Linked DNA regions of Homo sapiens: region 2 is linked to region 1. Evidence: promoter capture Hi-C in human tissues and cell types (Jung and others, 2019). All regions are on one chromosome and are shown on one strand. Each heading gives the region's core, a stretch centred on a gene start or on the middle of the fragment in contact. The rest is flanking DNA. Distances are from core to core; before and after follow the strand shown.

Evidence for each region. Contacts are between HindIII fragments. The study calls those that stand out against the background at their distance.
Region 2: a contact is called between the fragment with the promoter of SLC25A47 here and the fragment with the promoter of CYP46A1 in region 1, in 1 of the 25 tissues and cell types used here (adrenal gland).

What each region holds. Positions count from the first base shown.
Region 1 is chr14:99,682,414-99,687,375 of GRCh38, reverse strand. CYP46A1 (cytochrome P450 family 46 subfamily A member 1) reads right to left here and starts at 3,078. Exons shown (of 15, transcript NM_006668.2): 1 at 2,840-3,078. The coding sequence starts at 2,958. RefSeq lists a silencer at 2,694-3,273 and an enhancer at 4,514-4,583. The HindIII fragment of the contact is 8,159 bases long and covers 492-4,962 here.
Region 2 is chr14:100,320,837-100,325,540 of GRCh38, reverse strand. It overlaps SLC25A47 (solute carrier family 25 member 47), which reads right to left and starts at 2,202. Exons shown (of 6, transcript NM_207117.4): 1 at 2,099-2,202. The coding sequence starts at 2,126. The HindIII fragment of the contact is 19,339 bases long and covers 1-4,704 here.

The DNA of each region.
Region 1 (4,962 bases), core at 1,829-4,328:
GAACTGTCCAGGAGGAGTCAATTTATCCCCAAATAAATAAAAATTGGGAGAGAAAGACCTTTCATTGTCAAGTTTACATCCACTCCCACATTACCAGGAGAGTAGGGGCTGATGAGGGAAGTTAGAACAGTGACAGAGAAATAAAGAAGCTACAGGTGTTTGTGTGGGATCTGAGTGTGGGGGTCTGAGTTTTCAGCTGTTACACGGATCGGTGCAGTAGGATGTGGTAAGAAAAGCACAGAGGAGGGGCACTGAGGGAGGGCCTCCTGTAGAATGAGGAAGATGAAGAGTTGCCTCTTGCAGCGAGAGGGTTCCTTGCCTGCCAGCTGGCAAAGCCCTGGGGTACCCGGGGGCAAATGCTACTACTGGAGACTCAACACACAGATCTCTCGTCAACCACAGTATCGCCAATCATAGTTTAAAGATCCAGGCTTTTAATGTCAAGGCATCGGGTTTCTGCTAGAAGAGTTTCCAGAACTTTCATTTAGTGCAGTTTTATATTTGACCACTAACCAATTTTTAATCCAAAATCTTTTTATATATGCATTGTTCAGTTCACCTCCTTAGAATAAATAGCCCAATCATGATTATATTCATCTTCCTCCCACTGCTCCCTCCGCACCCCACACACTCAGGTCACATGTAGACTCTGTGGTATAAGATTTGGGAAGAATTTAGCCATAAGAAGGAAAGCAATAAGGATACATGCTACTACATGAATGAACTTTTGAAACATTATACTAAGTGAAAGAAGCCAGACACAAAAGGCCACATATTGTATGATTCCATTTATATGAAATGTCCAGAACAGGCAAATCCACAGAGACAGAAAGCAGATTCATGGTTGCCAGGGCTGTGAGGGGTGGGAGAAAATGAGGAGTGATGGCTAATGGGTACGGGGTTTCTTTCTGGGGTGACAAAACAGTTCTGAAATCGGTGGCGATGGCTGCACAGTGCTGTGAATGTACCAAAAACCACTGAATCATACACTAAAGAATACATTTTGTGGAATGCAAGTTACATTTCAATTTTTTTTAAGATGATTTAAATTCTGCTTTCTCAAGACACAGAGACCAGAACAGGTCATTTGAGTTTATGAGAAGACCAAGTAACGATGAAACTTATCAGAACAAGCACCAAACTCATTCAATTCTAAGTGCTGATGGCTTCTCTGAAAACTTGAGAGGGTGATAGTGTCCACCACGGAACTCACGGGAGATTTCCACCATTCAACCTTGAATTGCTATTCATAGAGTGTCTACTATGCATGTACAATGTGCTGCTACATGTCGGAGATGCAGCAGTGACTGAGACAGACAGGGGGCCCATGGAAAAGAGACACTTAGGAAAAACTTGCACAAATAATTGCCCAATTAACATTATGCTGTAAAGGAAAATTACAGTGATTTCAGGGTTTATAAAATGAACATAATATTTTTGGGGGAGCAGGAGGAACCTCCCTGAGGAGTTAGCATTGAAGCCAAACCTGGAAGGCTGGGGGAAGAAGCATCCAGGTAAAGTAGAAGGCAGAGGAGCTAAGCAAGGAGAGAGAGAGAGAGCACCAGAAGGGCAGAGAGCCAGCAGGGAGAACAGGTGCCTCCCTATGTCACCAGCCACAGAGATCTTTCCTGAACCCATCAAGCAGAGATTCAGGCTTCTAACGCCAGTACATCTGGCTTGTGCTGGAGATGGGTGCCTTCCAGAATATTCATGTCCTGAGATTTTAAAAAGTGTGTCTAATACAATTGTTTATTCATTCATTCAACAAATATTTATTGAGATCTGCAACACGCCAGGCACTGGGGATACACAAGCGAACACAGAGTGTCCCTGTCCTCCCGGGGCTCACATTCTAGAGGGGGAGACAGTCAACAGGTGAACAGACAGTCAACAGGTGGAAAGAAGGTAACCTCAGAGGTGATGGCCCCTGAGAAGTCTGGGGCTGGGTGGTCTTTACACAAGGTGCTGGGCAAGGCCTGTTTGAGACAAGCAGAGGAAGAAGCCCGCCAGGCCCAGGCTTGAGAAAAGGACCCGGGGGGAGGGAAGCTGCGGGGGGGGCGGGGGGAGGGGGAGGCTGGGAGAAGAAAGGCTGGGGGCAGTAGTGAGAAAGCAAGAGGAAAGAGCAAGCTGCAGAGTGGGTTCTGAGTGCTCGGCAGGGGCCTCGCGGGCCATGCAGCCGACTTAATTTAGAACTGCATTTAGTTGTCAAGTGATGGGAAGCCCTTGGAGCAGGGAAATGACACATTTAATTTAAGCTTCACAAAGCTAAGCTGGGGGTGGGGGGGGGTTGGCAAGTTGAGGGGGGTGTAAGTTGCGTGGGGGTGGGGACCAAGAATGCAATTGTAAGTACTAAGGAGAAGACAAATGGGGTGTCCCAGAACAGAAATACAAGCAAAAGGAAACATGACTGAAGTACAGCGTGCTCCAATCCAGGCTGACCCTGTCCAAGTCCCAAAGTTAACAGCGCCCACTTTGGAGGCAGGCTGACCTGGGCTTAAATCTAGGCTTACCAACCGTGTGACCTTGGGCAGGTGACTTCGCCTCTGAGCGCCTCAGTCTCCTCGTCTGAACGATGGGTTAACAATAGCGCCTACCTGAAAGGGCTGTGGCTGCCATCACGTTTGTGGGGCCCAGCTGTGCGCGGTGGGCGCCCAGCAGCTGCTGCGGCTGTGAGTAATTTGTTACTAAGAATAGTTAGCGCCCCTCTCGGGGCCGCCGACTCCCAGCGGCCGCGCGCACTAGGCGAGGCCGGACCCCCGGCCTGGACGCCGGCTTAGACGCTGTCCCCAGGCCCCCAGTCCCAGCACCCCAGCCAGGCCCCGCCCCCAGCCCCGCTCACCTGGGCCGCGGCGGCCCGGGGATGTGCTCGTAGCGGCTGCGAGCGCGGTGCACGAAGGTGCAGCAGAGGCCGAAGGCGAGCAGGACGGCGCTGCCGAGCAGCAGCAGCCCGGGGCTCATGGCTCCGGGGCAGGGCAGGCCAGGCCAGGGTCGGGCCGGGCGCCGAGGGGGCCGGGAGGCCGCGAGCCGACTCAGCTGTCAGCGCCGCGCGCCGCCTCGGCCCCAGGCCAGGCGCGACCCAGCACCCTCCCCGCCCGCTCGGCTCCGCCCCCGCCGACTCCGACCCCTCCCAGGGCGCACAGTCCCCGCCAACCACGTCTCCGCCTCCGGCTCCGGCGCTCCGGGCCCTCCCCCGCCCCGCCCCGCCCCCCAGAGCTCCGCCCCAACCTCCACACCGCCCCAGCCCAGGCCCCACCCCGAGCATGTGGTCTTCACCAATCACAACTCCGCTTCTGGCTCAGCCCCCCAGGCTCCGCCCCCACCTCTTCAGACTCAGGTCCGCCCCAGCAGCAGCTCCGCCCAGAACGCGTTGTCCCTGGCAACGCCGATCCTCAGCGCTCTGGCCCGGCGGCGGCGCGAAGTCCTGCTGGCTGGCTCCGCCCGCTTCGGCGCCTCCAAATAACGGCATCTTTCCGCGCGCGGTCTTAGGCCCCTTCCTTTTTCCCCCAAACCTGCCCGGAAACCCCATCCCAGCCTGCAAAAGTCCGCATAACGCCGACTGTTCCCAAACTTCTCCTTGGAACCCCAGACCCCCAAAGTTGTTCTCCAGTTGCCCCGGGGCGCCTCCTCCGCCCGGACAGTCCACGCCTAGCGCCCGTGGTCCGCCAGCGGGGCCCGCGGGCTGGTGGCAGGATCCTGCGGGACCCAGGGACGCCTGTGTCTGCGACCGAGAGCGCACGGCGTGGCCGGAGGCTGTTCTCCCAGAGACTCGGGGGCCTGCGGACCCTCCTAGACCAGGCGAAGCCCCATCTGAGGCGCTGGCTCAGGCCCGAAGGAGTTGGAGTTGGAGGGATGAAAATCTGGGTCCGCCCTCCAGGGAAAGCGGGAAATGTGCCGGGGAGGCGGGGGTAGCGGAGGAGAAGGTATTTTCGAAATAATGACCAGGGCTTCCCCCTCTGTCGTAACCCGCGTCTCCTTGCCCATCCCGTATGAAGATGAGGCCAATTCTGGGCGTTTTAGTTCCCAATTCCTATCCCGAGGGACCACCCAGCGTGAAAGTCGTGGCAGGGGAAGGCCAGGTGTGCCCACTCCTAGCCCAGGTAAAGGTCCCCCGGGCTGGAGGTAGAGGCCCAGGGAGTGTAGATGCTGCTGGGTTTCTGAGAAGAGGCAATGCCCCTGCCCCACGCTTGAGCCAGTCCTGGAGAGGTTGGGGGTTGGAAAACGAAGGGGACCTTGGTACCGCCTTCCCAGGTATAGTTAGGGACATGGGACATGGCTGTTAGGGGTGTGGGCTGAGGGGCGACGGAGACGGCCAAGTCTTAAGAGCCGTGCCCAGCACGGAGGAGGCGGGACTTCTGCCCTCGGGGCCACCGCAGCCTGGACAGGTGGGCAGCAGAGCATCCATCCCCCCGGCGCCTGGCCCGGCCGCCCAGTTGGACTCGGGGATGTTGGCTTGCTATGGCGCCCCCGTGTGGCGGCGGTGACAGGCAGCCGCAGGCCCACAGGGTAACTCAGGCTGGCCCTGCTGGGGTGAGGTGTGGAACGGAGCCACCAGGTCCCCTGTGGGCTGTGAAAGCTCCGGGGCTTGAGGGCAATTTGGAGGGAGGATGAGGCTGCAAGAAGGAGGGTGTGGATTCCTGCGCACTGGAAGGTGGGTTGGGGTGGTTAGCTAGAAAAGAAATGTGACGGCATCACATTTAGTATCCAGTTTGTGGAACGGCTCCCTGAGATTACACAGTGCATCGCACTGTCTGAAGAGGACTTTCTCTTGCCTTGTCTCTCCAGACCCCTGGAACAATGGTACTGTTAGCAACAGCAAATCCATATGGGTCTGCAGCAGCCTCAGTTCTTGCCTCCTCAGAAGAAAGAATTCGACTGAGGGGCGTAAGGCAGAGTGAGAGGCAAGTTTTAGAGCAGGAGTGAAAATGTATTTAAAAGTTTTAGAGGCCGGGCGCAGTGGCTCAC
Region 2 (4,704 bases), core at 953-3,452, 640 kb before region 1:
CGGGACTGCCTCGTCCTCGCTGCCTTGGGCCAAAGACATGCCGACATGCCCCGGCCTCCCCACGGGCGTCATGCTCTGAGAGAACGTTTGATCCTACCCTAGCTGGGCCCTGTCTCTGAGCCAGGCAGACCTTGCCCTCAAGCCGTCAGCCCATGGAGGGTTTGCCTGTGAGCCAGGCGGTAACTGTGTTTTGGCTGCGTGGGTGGAAGGAGGGGGAGGCACAGCCTGGGCAAAGGCCAGGAGGAGGGAAGCCGAAGCCCACACCGGGGTTCGTGAAGAGCCAGGACTGCCTGGAACCACAAGCGTGTGTGGAAGAGAGAGGGCCGGGAGTCCACACCTTGCAGAGAGGCCTCGGGTGCCAGGCCTCAACATCCAAGCCCCAGCACTGCCACAGGGAAGTCAGAGGGGAAACAGGGTGGTCCCTGGGAGGACCATTCTCTCCCCTGAGGGGAGGTGGTAAAGGCCAATGGAAGAAAATAGGCACATGGGGACTGTACCCTATTCACTGTAGCCCAGGACTCAGTAAATATGTGGGATGAAAGAATGAAGTGAATAAATGTAAGGCAAAAGACCAAGTGGCTTGGAGAGAACGACCCTTCTTAACCCTCCCATACACCTCACACACCTCACCAGGCTCCTACTCATCCATCAAAGCCCTGCCACGACACTACCTCCTCTCTGGAGCCCTCTCTGGCCTCTGTACTCTGGGCTGCCTCTGTGCCTGGAACATGTTGAGCAGAGCCCTTGTCATATGGCCTTGCTGTTGTATGCCACCGCCACCTCCAGAACTGGAGTTCTCCAAGGACACGGCCGAGGGCTGACACCCCATGACCCAGGGCCAGGCACAGAGTGAGAGCCCTTTACCTAGGCCTCCTCATGGCTCCGGAGGAAAGATGCCAGACTCAGGAGCCCTTTCCAGCTGTGTGATGTCAGGCAAGTCCAGTAGCTTCCCTGAGGAAGGGAGCGGCTGGCCCCAGGCTGGCACCTAGCTGGGGCTGAGAAAGGCTGCTAATGGAGGCCGGGCGCAGTGGCTCACGCCTGTAATCCCAGCACTTTGGGAGGCTGAGGCGTGCGGATCGCTTGAGGTCAGGAGTTTGAGACCAGCCTGACCAACATGGTAAAACCCTGCCTCTACTAAAAACCCAAAAATTAGCCAGACATTGTGGTGCATGTCTGTAATCCCAGCTACTTGGGCGGCTGAGGCAGGAGAATCACTTGAACCCAGGAGGCAGAGGTTGCAGTGAGCCAAGATCACGCCAGTGCATTTCAGCCTAGGCGACAGAACAAGACTCCATCTCAAGGGAAAAAAAAAAGAAAAAGCCTGTTAATGGGGCAGGTACTCTGCCTTCTCCCAGGGCCAGAGCTGGGCCGCTCTCCCAACCCCCATGCTGTTTCCAGAAGTACTGACGCCACCCACCGATGTTTCACAAGACCAGCAAGGGCAGGAGTGCCCACTCAGAACAGCCCCCACAGCCCACGGGATGGAGCTGAGCCCGTGTCCCAGGGCCTGGTTATCTCCCTGAATCAGTCTTTCACCAGGAGCCCTTCCCCAGGAGGGAGAACGGTTTCTCCAGCAGAGTCTGGCCTGAGAAGCAGGCTCTGGAGGCCTAGCCAGGTGCACACACCCAGCAGGGCAGGTGGAGCCACCTCGCCAGGCCCCTTACCGTCCTCTGCCCGCCCCTTCCAGTCCCTGCTGCAGGACCAGGCCCATCTTCCCTACCCATCTCCCCACCCTCTCGATCCTCTCCTGGGGTCTTCTTTCCCTTCCAGTGACTCAATCACCCCTCCCCACACCAAGGACTCCCAGCCTCCCTGACTCTGCCTCCCGAGCGGCCCCCATGCCTAGACCACAGCCCCATCCCCAGCCTGCCCTCAGCCTCCTGTCTGAGCCTCCCAGGCCAGTGCAGCCCCCCAGGCCCTGCAGCACCCCTCACCCAGCCTTAGCCTCCCAGGAACCTGCTCTCTGCTCCTGGCAGATCCTGGGGGGTGAGGGGCTCCTCAAAGCCCACCCTGCTGCCCAGCACCTTCCTGGACCTCAGTTCCTCCTGCTACCCCCAGGAGCAGCAGTGTCTGCACAGCCCACCATCCTGTCTGTTACCTCCGATGGCTCCAGCGACAAAATCCATGAACAAGGTGTGGCGGGGAGGCCCTGGGTCTGCCTGCCTGAGAGGGCTTTGGTGCCACCAGGGTGGCCTCAACAGCTCCCAGCTGGCCCCTCTCAGACCTTAAATACCTGCGGCAGGGGAGGGGACCGGAAGCAGAGCCTGCTGAGGCCACGCGGCACACAGCTGGACTCCCTCCCTGCCCCCGGGACCCTTGTCCCAGTGCCCTCGGGACCCAGGTGTCAGGAAAACACAGGAGAGAGCACGGGAGGTGACAGGCACCAGAGAGCAGGGGCACTGCCCCATCACATCCAAACACCTCCTGGGAAGGTCCAGAGATGGGGCTGTGACAGCTCTCGCCCTCCAGGTCCAAGCCCAGGCCTTCACTGTGTCCCCTGGGCTTTCCCGACTCCCCTGGATTTGCTCAGGACCCCTGCCTGGGAAACCTGCAAAGCTCCCTCTCTTACTCACTCAAAAAACACTTACTTTGCTGATGCTACACCCAGGCAAATGAGAGCCAGTCCCTGTCCTCAAGGAGCTCCAGTTGGCAGGGAGGGAGGGGGTGGCAAGGACAGGCCTGAACCCAGGAACAGCACCCACCATCTGCTCTCACCCTTCCCGCTGCCCCGGTTCCCTGCTCTCTGCTCCATGGGAATGTGTCTCCCTGGACCCAGAGGCGAAGGCCAAGGCTGCCTCCACCAAGTCCCCCTGCCCACATGAACCAGGGACAGAGGCTGCCGATTCAGCCTCTGAACCAGCGGCTGGGGCCCTCCTGAAGGGGAAACCTCTCCACTAAGACGCTACTTCTGTCTGCTGGGCACTGTAAAAACAGGGACCTCCTTGCCCGTGCACCCCACCTTACAGTTCACCAAGCTCCCCTCACTCTCAGGCTCTAGGATCCTCCTCACCGCCCCAGGAGGGAGACAGCGCAGCGTTAGTGCTCCCCATTTCACAGATGGGGCCATTGAGGCCCAGAAAGGGGGCTTGTCCAAGGCCACGAGGGCGGCAGGGCTGGATGTGATCCCCAGATGCTCTCATACAACCCACCCTCTGGGATATCCAGGCCCGCCTGGGGAGGCCCCAGAGGGCTCTCAAGGGGACTCAGTGCATGCCCCATGTGACCTGCACTGCATCCTTGTGAGATCTCCACGTGAGACACCAAGGCTCAGGGAGGCTGTGCAGGTACCTCGGCCACACAGCTGCTGAGCAACAGAATCTAAGTGAGTGCCCCACAGACTGGAATGCCAGCAGGATAGGGGAGGGGCAGGTGTTGATGCATGAGGCCCAGGCAGCCCATCTGGGCAGCCCTCGGGACAGGTGGCAAGGCCAGGAGGCTCTTTGTCTACCTGTTTTCCTGTCCTCTAATGGCTGGACCTGCAGGCTGGCCTTGAGCAGGCTGAGAGCTGATGGAGGGACAGCCCCCCTGCCAGCCCGGCTATTTATAGGCAAGTGGGAGACACAGGATGAGCAGTGCCAGCTGCCACGGCAGAGGGCAAAGGGCGGGAAGTGGCCCATCCAAGGCCAGTCCCAATGCTAGTCCTGGCCCTCAAGGGGATGAAGCTTAGCATCTGGTTAGAAGCTGGCTGCCTGCCTTTAAAGCCCAGCTCTGCCACTCACAGCTGAGACCGTGGGCCAGCCCCTTGACCACTCTGTGCCTCAGCTTCTGCATCCATGAAATGAAGAGAGTACCTGCCTCATATCTGCGACCACGCAGGGCAAAGTCCGGGCGTGTCCCTGTGAGAGTGGCCAGCTAAATGCTAATGCTGCATTAACAGAAGCATAGAGTCTGGAAGGAAGGAGGTGGCTGGCCTGTTCTGGGCAGGGCAAATACAGCTGAGACTTGGGTTTGATTGCTGATGCTGCACTCAAGAAGCCAGTACCTTGGGTGCTGAGGGAGTTTGAAGCACTGTGTCTAACTGAAAGAACAGGGACCATTCAGATCCATGTTTCCTGTAGAGCATCCAATGCAGCAAGTGCCACCCACCCATAGCACCTGAGCCAGAAGCCCAGGAATTGCCCTGGACACCTCTCTCTCTCCACCCCACATCCAGAGTCCCCAGTCCTGTGTGTCAACCTCTTAAATTCACGTTCAGCTCCCTTCACCACTGTCCATCTGCACGGCCTCAGCCGCGTCATCATCCCGTGGACCGCAGCCCGCCCCGCCCATGCCCTCTACTCATGAAACCAAGGCTGCCTGTCGAGTTTTAGGCACGGGGACACATCAGTAAACACAACGGATAAAAGCCCTTGCCCTGGGCTGGGCACGGTGGCTCACGCCCATAATCCTGGCACTTTGGGAGGCTGAGACGGGCAGATCACAAGGTCAGGAGTTCAAGACCAGCCTGGCCAACATGGTGAAACCCCGTCTCTACTAAAAATACAAAAATTAGCCAGGCGTGGTGGTGGACACCTGTAGTCTCAGCTACTTGGGAGGCTGAGGCAGGAGAATTGCTTGAACCCGGGAGGCTGAGGTTGCAGTGAGCCGAGATTGGGCCACTGCACTCCAGCCTGGGAGACAGAGTGAGACTCTGTGTCCCAAAAAAAAAAAGCCCTTGCCCTGGTGGACCATAATTATGTTCAGGGAGGAGGACAGCCAGCCAAC